Regions from separate parts of the Homo sapiens genome. Here regions 1 and 2 are each linked to region 3. Evidence: promoter capture Hi-C in human tissues and cell types (Jung and others, 2019). All regions are on one chromosome and are shown on one strand. The core of a region is centred on a gene start or on the middle of the fragment in contact, and the rest is flanking DNA. Distances in the headings are between cores, read along the strand shown. Region 1 overlaps SPTBN2 (spectrin beta, non-erythrocytic 2). Region 2 holds the start of RBM4 (RNA binding motif protein 4). Region 3 holds the start of AIP (AHR interacting HSP90 co-chaperone).

Region 1 (3,322 bases), core at 1-2,500, 780 kb after region 3:
CAGCGCCTCGTGTCCCAGGTAGGACTTGAGGCTCCTAGGATGCTTAGGCTGGTCAGAACTGGGAGAGAGACAGGGTGGATAAGAAGCCCCGCGGGGTGGAGAGACAATGAAACACAAAATCCGTCACCTGGGTAAAAAGGCCTAGAGGTCCGGGAGCCAGGGGCCAGAGGGTGGGACAGGAGAGAGGGTTGGTGAGACAGGATGGGGGTGGGATAGAGAGGGAACTTAGAGCCACCGCATGGAGCTGGGATCTTGCAGGCCAAGTGCCCTGCAGGACAGAGGAGCAGGCAGAGGCACTGTCCCTTGGTCCCCACACCTCCTCTCCCTGCCCCCGACACAGGACAACTTTGGGCTGGAGCTGGCAGCTGTCGAGGCAGCAGTACGGAAGCACGAAGCCATTGAGACGGACATCGTGGCCTACAGCGGCCGGGTGCAGGCAGTGGACGCCGTGGCTGCAGAGCTGGCCGCCGAGCGCTACCACGACATCAAGCGCATCGCCGCTCGGCAGCACAACGTGGCACGGCTCTGGGACTTCTTGCGGCAGATGGTGGCCGCCCGGCGGGAGCGGCTCCTCCTCAACCTGGAGCTGCAGAAGGTGTTCCAGGACCTGCTCTACCTCATGGACTGGATGGAAGAGATGAAGGTACCAGTGAGGCGTGCTGGGTGGGGTAAGAGTGATCAAGAGTCGAGGGGGCCCCACAGTGGGTGCGTCCGCCCGTCTGCTCGGCCGATCTCTGTGGAGTGTGAACCAGCACAGGGCCCTGTCCCCAGTTGCAGGGAACAAAGTAAACAGGGCCCTGTCCACATGGGGTTCGTGTCCACATGGAGGAGGCTGATGACAAAACCCACGGACCTTTCCGTAAACAAAAGAGCAGGGGCCATAAAACCACTGATGAAACTGGAACAGGGTGGTGTGAGGGGCTGGTCAGACAAGGCCTCTGAGAAAATACCATTTAAGCCGAGACCAGAATAGTGCCAGGAGCCAGCACAGAGAGCTCTCAGGAGAGAATGTTCCGGGCAGAAGGAACAGCCGGCACAGGCCCTCGGCCTGGATCAGCATGGTGTGTTCAGGATCAGAAGGAAGGCCGGTGGGCTGTGAGCATGAGGAGTGGGGGCCATGGACTGAGATTTGGGAGGGCACGGCCAGCCCACTAGGGCCTTACAGGCCTGGTCAGGGAGTTTGGATTTTATTCAAAGTAACATGGATCCTTTAAAGTGATTTGAAGGGGCCAGGCGCAGTGGCTCATGCCTGTAATCCCAGCTCTTTGGGAGGCCAAGGCAGGCAGATCACTTGAGGTCAGGAGTTCAAGACCAGCCTGGCCAACATGGTGAAACCCCGTGTCTATAAAAATACAGAAATTAACCAGGTGCGGTGGTAGCGCATGCCTGTAGTCCCAGCTACTCAGGAGGCTGAGACAGCAGAATCGCTTGAACCCAGGAGGCGGAGGTTGCAGTGAGCCAAGATTGCACCACTGCACTCCAGCCTAGGTGATAGAGCAAGACTCAGTCAAAAAAAAAAAAAAAAAGCAGCTAGGCAAGGTGGCTCACGCCTATAATCCTAAGACTTTGGGAGGCCGAGGCGGGCGGATCACCTGAGGTCAGGAGTCCAAGACCAGCCTGGCCAACATGGTGAAACCCCATCTCTGCTAAAAATACAAAAATTAGCTGAGTGTGGTGGCACACGCCTGTAATCCCAGCTAGTCAGGAGGCTGAGGAAGGAGAATTGCTTGGACCTGGGAGGTGGAGGTTGCAGTGAACTGAGATTGTGCTACTGCACTCCAGCCTGCACTACAGGAGCGAGACTCCATCTCAAAATAAATAAATAAATAAAGTGATTAGAAGGTTTTGAGAGGGGGAGAGATTTGATTGTACCTTATGTTTGTAAAAAAGTCACTTTGGCTACTCTGAAGAAGGCCTGTGGGCAGGCAGCATGACAGCGAGACCGTTAGAGGTTGCTGCCATCTTCCAGGCGGGCAGCGGCTAGGAGGGTGGATTGGGGAGAGATGTGGAAGGAAGGCTGCTGGGTGCTGGGGCGGAGCGGTGGCGGCAGGAGGGTGTCGATGATTCTGAGGCTGAGAAGATTAGTCACAGCAAAGCTTCCAAGAGCAGGAGTTAGTTAGAACATTGTTCCACAGCAGGGGAGTTCAGGATAAGGAGGTCGGGGTGCCAGGGCAGAACTGGGGTATCTCAAGTATGTGTGAGCAAGCAGGTTTCTCACCTGGGTGCAACACCTGGGGCCGTGGAGAAGTTGGAAGAAAAACGCAGCCAGGTTAGCGCGTCTGTGCTCAGGCGGGCATGTGCACTTCATGTGTGCCTGGCAGGGCCGGCTGCAGTCTCAGGACCTGGGCAGGCACCTAGCAGGAGTGGAGGACCTGCTGCAGCTGCACGAGCTGGTGGAGGCAGACATCGCCGTGCAGGCCGAGAGGGTGCGGGCCGTCAGCGCCTCTGCCCTGCGCTTCTGCAACCCAGGGAAAGGTGAGAAGTCAGCGAAGGCACTGGAGAGGGAGGGGCTGGGAAGGAGCACATCAAGAGCCGAGGTGGAAGGGTTGGGAAACCTGGGGACGGGAAAGATGGTGGCCAAACGATGGTGACTGAGCTAAAGCCAGGGAGGGAAGTCCAAGAGAGTGTGGTGGCAGGGAGCAGCCGGAGGGCTGGGTTAAGGCTCTGACCCTCTCCTGTGACTTTCTCAGAGTATAGACCTTGCGACCCGCAGCTGGTGTCGGAGCGGGTGGCCAAGCTAGAGCAGAGCTATGAGGCACTGTGCGAGTTGGCAGCGGCGCGGCGGGCCCGGCTGGAGGAATCACGGCGGCTCTGGCGTTTCCTCTGGGAGGTGGGTGAAGCTGAGGCCTGGGTGCGGGAGCAGCAGCACCTCCTGGCCTCAGCCGACACGGGCCGAGACCTGACCGGTGCCCTCCGCCTGCTCAACAAGCACACAGCCCTGCGGGGCGAGATGAGCGGCCGGCTGGGGCCCCTGAAGCTCACCCTGGAGCAGGGCCAGCAGTTGGTGGCCGAGGGTCACCCTGGGGCAAGCCAGGCCTCTGCCCGTGCAGCTGAACTCCAAGCCCAGTGGGAGCGGCTAGAGGCCCTGGCCGAGGAGCGTGCCCAGCGGCTGGCCCAAGCCGCCAGCCTCTACCAGTTCCAGGCCGATGCAAACGACATGGAGGCCTGGTTGGTTGACGCACTGCGCCTGGTGTCCAGCCCCGAGCTGGGGCACGACGAGTTCTCCACGCAGGCTCTAGCCAGGCAGCATCGGGCCCTGGAGGAGGAGATTCGAAGCCACCGGCCAACCCTGGACGCCTTGAGGGAACAGGCAGCAGCCCTG
Region 2 (3,752 bases), core at 256-2,755, 840 kb after region 3:
AAACTCAAAATACAATCCCTTGGTACAGGTATAATATAAAAGCAACAAGAGCTGTAACCCTTTAAAGAGTTTGTGTAAGGTAGGACAGCTTAACAAGGATTCTGGTCCTATAAGTGTCGCTTGACATGTTTTTGAGAGGTTCTTCACGTAAAATGCAGAATTCTGATCCTGTGCTGAGGGCAATAAATTCAGAGTGAGGAACTCTGAACTGTGCTCTACTACAAAAAAATAAAAAATAAAAAAGGCCCAGTAACTCAGAAAGCCTTCAAAGAAAAGGGTTTCTGCACTGATAAGCACAAAAGCCGTAGGGGCTCCAAATAAAAGGTGAGTGGCTTTTCTCCAGGAGACATTTGCCTAAGGTAAAGCCCCTAAGTCCCATGCATTCTACATCATAAGAAGTCCATCACCCACACTTATTTCTTCATCACCAGCCAGCCAACAGCTGTTATCTTTACCAAACCTCTCCTTTTACTTATCCAACCATTTTCTGCACACAGCCTTGTGTTCAGCCCTCTACCCAAAGAGGGTGGTTCACCTTGAAACTCTGTGTTATCAAGGCCCCTGATGGCCTCCACTGCATCCTCTGCCCGCTCCATGTGTACGAAGGCATAATCTTTCACGATGTCACATTCGATGACCGGACCATACTCCTCAAACTTGGCTCGAAGCTCCTTATTGGTGCAGGTGGGACTGATGTTGCCCACATGCAACTTTGTTGAGGTTTTGCTCTTATTCTTGCTGGCTTCCACGTTGATGTTCACCCCATGAAGCTTGTAATGGTGCAGGTTGCGTATGGCATCCTCAGCTGCCGTCTTGTCTTCTATGTGCACAAAGCCGTAATTCTTAATGATGTCACATTCCAGCACCTTCCCATACTGCTCGAAGAGTGAGCGAATCTCCTGCTCTGTAGCCTCCCGGGGCAGGTTTCCGATGAACAGCTTCACCATCCTGACAAGAGCCTGGGAGAGAAAAACAAGACATCTGACAAAAGACCTCAGGCCCACATCCGTTCACAAAAGACAACGACTTTCACTCTAATGTATATTTCCAGTTTTCTCTCTCACACGCCTGCACACACACCTCCACACAATAATCAAATGGAAGTGGGAGTGAACTAAGGCCTGCTATAGTAGCCGCCATGAACCTGTAAGAATAAGAAGACGTCTGCAATAGGGAGGTCCTTAGTAGACAAAGGGTTTGGTAAGAACCGATACCTTCCAACAGAAATGGGCATGAAAGACAGCATATGAAGAAATGGGGGTACTAGGCTTTTCTATCCACTAGGAGGACAACAGAAAACAAAAGTCTACTAGGCTTGCTGACTGCCTGCCTGAAATTATCAACAGGCTTTTCCTCACGTAGGAACCAAAGCAGCCATCATTTCCGGGAAAATGGGCCTTGTAATAGCTACATTTGAGTTTCCTTTGGAAGTAATGAACGCGCGACTCGGATCAGACAGCGAGGAGTGGGAGATAAAGGAAATACTGGAGTGGTGAACGCCTCTCTCGGGGCACCGTCCTAGCTCCTGCCGAACACTGAAATGCGCGGCCGCGGAAAAGAGCTTCAGATTCATTAACCAGACGATGTCTCACGGCCCGAGAAATTCCCGAAACGAGAATGTAACTGTCAGATATAAGGGAAAGGGGGTTATCCCAGTGGAAATCTCGAGGCTCCAAGAGCAGCCATGTCGGGCGCGGGACAGGGTGGGCGAAAAAAAGCAAGGTATTCTCAGGGGGCGGTGGGGGAAGGGCTGCTCCCGGCTTACCGCGCAATGCCGAGGACCGAGGTCGGCTCTCAGTGACGGGTGTGGAGACTGCGGACCTACCAGGACACCCCCGAAGCCCAAGGGAGTGAGAGAAGATTTAACACAGTACAAGAAAGGCAGTGGAAAGGCTCGGAGTCTCACCCGCACAGAAACCAGCAGGGCCTCCTCCTCGCGGCGCGGACGCTTCTGACAAAACGCTAAAATGGCGGCGGCCGCAGCAGTGCTCTGAGTAGAAGGGGGAGGTGAGCCTACAACCGGATTGGCCACTCAAGAAAGTAAAAGGCCGGCGTTCCCTCAGATCCTCTTCCTGATTGGTTACCACGGACGCCAATTACCTAAGAGGCCGGCAAGAGGTGGAAACGTCTGTAACCTCGGAGCTTTTATGCGAAAGCCAATGGGCACCAACCTCGCGAAGCCGAACTCGCTGATTGGGCAAGAGATCAGCGTGAGGGCGGACCTACAAACGTGGGCTTCGCCGGCGGGGTGCGGCCCGCCATTAGGCGGAGCGAGCTAGAGCCCCGGGGTAGCAGTCTTTAGCTTCATGGCGCCAACTTCGTTAAGCTTCCACATTTCGCCACCTCCACGTGCACAGCCAGACAGTATTCCGCGCTCCATTTTGCCGTTCACTCTAGGTGTCTCCCTCTAACCTCCCAAGCACCACCCCCCCTCGCGGCCAGGACGCTGTGGAAATAGCTTATGCAGGCACATGCCAGGGAAGAAAAACAACGAAGACCCCCCCCAACCCACCACCCACCACTTCAGGAAACCAACCTTCTCCTTGGGCCAGCAGTCCACACTGTAGCCTTGAGAGTCCCGGAGCTCCCCCAAAATCAAACCTCTCACAGGTGGTGAAAGGACCTCTGTAATGGCCTTCCAGAAGTAGGCCCGGCAGGAGGCTGCACTGTCCAGGAGACGCTGAGGACAAGTTCCCTCTGGGAACCAGCCTCCCAGGGTCCGCGATGAAGAAACCTTTCTGAGACCATGGAGATTTAAAGTATACCCCGACCCCACCCTGAGAAAAAACTGGAGCAGCAAAGGTTTTTTTGTTTTATTTTATTGGGCGCCATCAGCCAGAGCTGTTTTAATCCCCTAGAACCGACTTTAGAGGACAGAGCTTAGTCACAACCAGCTGTAAACAAAATACAAAGTAACATTCTCCAGAGGGTCCAGCTGCTGCCTCGTTTTCTCTCATCCTTAGGCTGCTTCATATTCATTAAGCAAGCAACTTTAGTCAAGACCCTTTGCGAAGCAGCTTTTGAAAAGGGTTAAAAGGTGGAGTGCAGGGACTGGATGGAAGAACTTATAACACGAACAAAACAGGCTAAAAGCAGTGCAGAGTTTATGAGGAAAGGGATCATCAGGAGTGAAGATGACACAAGTACCACACACCACCATCCAAAGCAGCTTCTTCACCACCACCCCCGCCCCAAAAAGAGAACGGTTTCATAAAGAGAAAGGTGAAGTCAGAGTTTGGGGGGGAAAAAAAAGAGTGGGTTTTAAAACCCAACACGAGGGCCAGGTGCGGTGGCCCACGCCTGTAATCCCAGCACTTTGGGAGGCCGAGGCGGGCGGATCACCTGAGGTCAGGAGTTCAAGACCAGCCTAGCCAACATGGTGAACGCCATCTCCACTAAAAATACAAAAATTAGCCCAATGTGGTGGCAGGCCCCTGTAATCCCAGCTACTCAGGAGGCTGAGGCAGGAGAATCGCTTGAACCCGGGAGGCAGAGGTTGCAGTGAGGCAAGACAAGAGTGGCCTGGACGACAAGAGTGAAACTAAAAAAAAAAAAAACCCAACATGATTCAGGAATCTGACTGCAGAAAACTGGTCAATAATTTATCCTAGGGTAGAAAAAGCTAAGGAACTAAAAAAAGAAAATATAACATTTACAGATGTGTTGGTCACTAATCTTGTCCACTTCATTGTGGATTCTGATGCACCTCTGAGCCTGTGTAAAGGCCACGGGATCAGTGATGAAGAAAATCA
Region 3 (3,480 bases), core at 837-3,336:
CAGAGTGAAGGAGGGGGTGGGGTACACCACAGGGTCAGCAGGGGAGCTCACCCAGGTCAGTAGGGGTGGACCTCACAGGGCCTGTAGGCTATGGTGAGGCCTCTGTTTTTCACTCTGTGATGGAAGCCACTGAGTGGCTCCGAGCAAAAAAGGAATTGAATCTGGCATGGGCTCGGCTGCTGGGACGAGAACAGACCACAGAGGGACAAAAGAGGCAGGAGAGTTAGAGGTCGCTGCAGTAACCCAGGCTGGAGATGAGGATGGCCTGGACCCAAGCAGTGATGGCAGAAGTGGTGAGAACTCAGATCCTGGCTGGATATTGAGGATGTGATGTTGGATGTGAGACTGGGAGGACCACAGAGATGCTAAGGTTTTTGCCCTGAACAACGGGAAGGTTGTTGGTTCCCCTGACACGGAGAAGCCTCAGGTGGAGCAGGTTAAGTGTGAGTTGCCAACCAGGCTTCCAGGTGGATATGGTGAGTAGGGAGCTATATATCAGGTTTAAGAGACAGTTAATGACTGGAGAGCTGCATCTGGGAGTAATCCGGGCAGGGAGAGTTTTTAGAGATAACACTGGGGGTGGGTGCAGAGAAAAGAGGTTTGGAGATTGAACTCTCGACAGGATATGGTTAGAGGAGCCCACGCTCTTAACTGCCGCACCATGCTGCATCTCTGAAGTCAGTTTCCACATCGGTAAAACGGAATCAACAACAGTACCTATCTCACATTGTAGGAAATAAACGTGTGAAGCATGTAGCACAATGTTCGAATAGTGAGCACTCAATCAGTGCTGGCGATTGGTTATTTAACACCACCTGTTTCTGATCTTGGGGTGCCATTGTTCACATCTCTCCTTCTGATGTCTGTTCCATCCAGGATCCCCCTTGCCAGCCCCTTCTTCCAACGCCACCAACCCCCCAGCACATGGGGGCATGAACCCACACCACACATCCTGTCTCTTCTTAGAGAAGATATCTTTTCATACAGCGGATCACTCCAGCCATGCAGCTCCCCTCTGCTCTCAGGGCACTTATACTGCACTGGGCTAGGATGCTTAGCTGCCCGATTCGGCACGGTGCTGGCCAGGGGGCATGTGCTCATTTGCTCAATGTGCATGTCCTGCCTGACTGCTCTGCTGGGCACAGGGGCTGCCCCTGGGAGGTTCCCTACTCTGCAAACAAGTGGCAGCTGGGAAAAGCACTCCGGGAGGAGGCAACTACAGGAGAAGCAGGGAAGCCTGGAGTTGTAGGTTGGGGGAGAAGCGGGCAGAGGGGCTGGATCTGGGGGCCTGGCAAAAAGGAGAAAAGTGGGAGGTTCTTTACTTCCCAACCCTCATCTGTCCCAACAAGCCCCTAGTGCAGCAGGAAGGCTGCTAAAGAGTCCCTGTCTGGGAGACCTGACCTCTGGGCCCGTTCTCCGGCTTTGCACGTCCCAGGGTCTTGGTTTTCCACTCTAAACAGCGGCAGTTGGTCTAAGTGTTTTCAGAAGGCCCTTCCATCTACAAAGGATCATGAGCCTTGAAACCCAGATACCCGAGGACCACTCCCGGCCCTGGGTTTCCTCCAGCGTGGGGTCTGCCCAAGCACTGAGATCAACCCCCAACCCCAACCCGCTTGTGATGACTGACGGCCTCCCCCACCAATGCTGCTACAAGGCCGAGCCAGGGGGCGGGGCAGACAGGCCCGAATTCACCCCCTACTTAAATTCAGCCCAATCAGCGTCGAGTTCTGCATGTGAGCGGTAGGGGCAGTGGACGCTGCCCTCTGGGCATGCGCAACCTCTCGCCTAAGGCCTCCTCCCGCCTCGCATGCGCACCACGCCGCAGAGGGGGAGAAGGGTAGGGTAGACACGAACCTTGGTCCCATCTTGAAAGTCCGGGAGCTCTCCTCGGCCTTCCTGTATCACACGTTTTTGGATCCCGTCCTCCCGGAGTCTTGCGATGATATCCGCCATCCTCCTTCCCCGCTGCTCCCTTTCGGCAACTTCCGGACTCGCTCGGTAGCTTCCGGACTTGCTTCGGCAACTCCTAGCACCTCGGCAGCTTCCGAGCTAGCGCCATTTTGGTTGAGGGCAGAAGCCAAAAGGGACTGAGCGTGGAAACGGATGGTGATTGGTTCTCTGCGCTGGGGCTGAGCGCGCGCGTCTGCTCGGGGGCGGAGCCTAGGAATGTCTCGGGGCTGGACCCCAGCCTGTCAAGGAGGAAGGGCCGGGGTCCGCGGGCCGGGCGGGACGAGGACGTCCCTAACAATTGTCATTGAATTGATTGGGACTGCGGCCGTGTGGCACTTTGTTTGAAGTTGTGGATGGAATATAACAGCACTGCAGAGTTAGGAAAATGAAAAAAAAAAAAAACACCCGTAAGCCACACCCTCAAAGTGTTATGATTTTTGTGTATTTTCTTCCGGCTTTTTCTCTTTCGCATATCTAGTATGATTGTCGGGACTCTTGCATCCTGGATCTTCCTCTTTCAAAAAATAAAAAGAGGAAGAGGGAAAGAAAGGTGGAGAAGGAGACCAAGAGAGCCCATTGCGGGGTCGGAAATGAGTCATAGTTGTGCCCAATTAATATTAGGGAATAATCGATGAATGATAGAAATGAGGTACTTTAGCGCCGGGCGCGGTGGCCCTGTAACCCCACCACTTTGGGAGGCCGAGGCGAGAGGATCGCTTGAGCCCAGGAGTTCGAGGCTGCAGTGGGCCGTGTTCGTGCCACTGCACTCCAGGCTAGCCGACAGAGCGAGATGCTGTCTCAAAACAAAACAAAAAAAAAAAATTAAATTAAAAGAAAAGAGAAATGAGGTACTTTGGGGCTAAAACAACTTTTGTTTTTCTTTTTTTGAGACGGAGTCTCGCTCTGTCACCCACGCTGGAGTGCAGTGGCACAATTTCAGCTCACTGCAAGCTCTGCCTCCCGGGTTCACGCCATTCTCCTGCCTCAGCCTCCCGAGCAGCTGGGACTACAGGCGCCCGCCACCATGCCCGGCTAATTTTTTGTATTTTTAGTAGAGACAGGGTTTCACCGTGTTAGCCAGGATGGTCTCAATCTCCGGACCTCGTGATCCGCCCACCTCGGCCTCCCAAAGTGCTGGGATTACAGGCGTGAGCCACAGCGCCCAGCTGATATGAAACATTCTAAATAAAATACTAGGCTAATTGAATTCACTAATGTCATGTAAAAATGCATCAGTATGGGGCAGGTGTGGTGGCTTATGCCTCTAATACCAGCACTTTGGGAGGCCAAGGCAAGTGGATCTCCTGGATCTCCTTGAGCTCACAAGTTCAAGACCAGCCTGGACAACATGGCAAAATACCATCTTCACCAAAAATACAAAAAATTAGGTGGTGTGGTGGTGCACGCCTGTGGTCCCAGCTACTCAGCAGGCTGAGGCTGGAGGATTGCTTGAGCCCAGGAGATGGAGGTTGTAGTGAGCCAAGATCGCACCACTGCACTCCAGCCTGGGTGATAGAGTGAGACCCCATC

The links. The method cuts DNA at HindIII sites, captures the fragments that hold promoters and counts their contacts. A contact is called where the count stands out against the background at its distance.
Region 1: a contact is called between a fragment that was not itself captured here and the fragment with the promoter of AIP in region 3, in 1 of the 25 tissues and cell types used here (dorsolateral prefrontal cortex).
Region 2: a fragment that was not itself captured here is called in contact with the fragment with the promoter of AIP in region 3 in 1 of the 25 tissues and cell types used here (spleen).

What each region holds. Positions count from the first base shown.
Region 1 is chr11:66,704,837-66,708,158 of GRCh38, reverse strand. It overlaps SPTBN2 (spectrin beta, non-erythrocytic 2), which reads left to right. Exons shown (of 38, transcript NM_006946.4): 12 at 1-18; 13 at 341-643; 14 at 2,322-2,475; 15 at 2,691-3,322. Among named protein-coding and RNA genes, the nearest start is that of SPTBN2, 23 kb to the left of the region's middle. The HindIII fragment of the contact is 6,421 bases long and covers 1-3,322 here.
Region 2 is chr11:66,636,907-66,640,658 of GRCh38, reverse strand. All of the region lies in intron 1 of RBM14-RBM4 (RBM14-RBM4 readthrough), which reads right to left. It overlaps RBM4 (RNA binding motif protein 4), which reads right to left and starts at 1,956. Exons shown (of 4, transcript NM_002896.4): 1 at 1,907-1,956; 2 at 536-959. The coding sequence starts at 947. RefSeq lists enhancers at 1,080-1,791, 1,658-2,027, 1,792-2,505. The HindIII fragment of the contact is 5,623 bases long and covers 1-3,752 here.
Region 3 is chr11:67,481,632-67,485,111 of GRCh38, reverse strand. It overlaps AIP (AHR interacting HSP90 co-chaperone), which reads right to left and starts at 2,086. Exons shown (of 6, transcript NM_003977.4): 1 at 1,855-2,086. The coding sequence starts at 1,953. RefSeq lists enhancers at 1-37, 2,185-2,244. The HindIII fragment of the contact is 17,225 bases long and covers 1-2,584 here.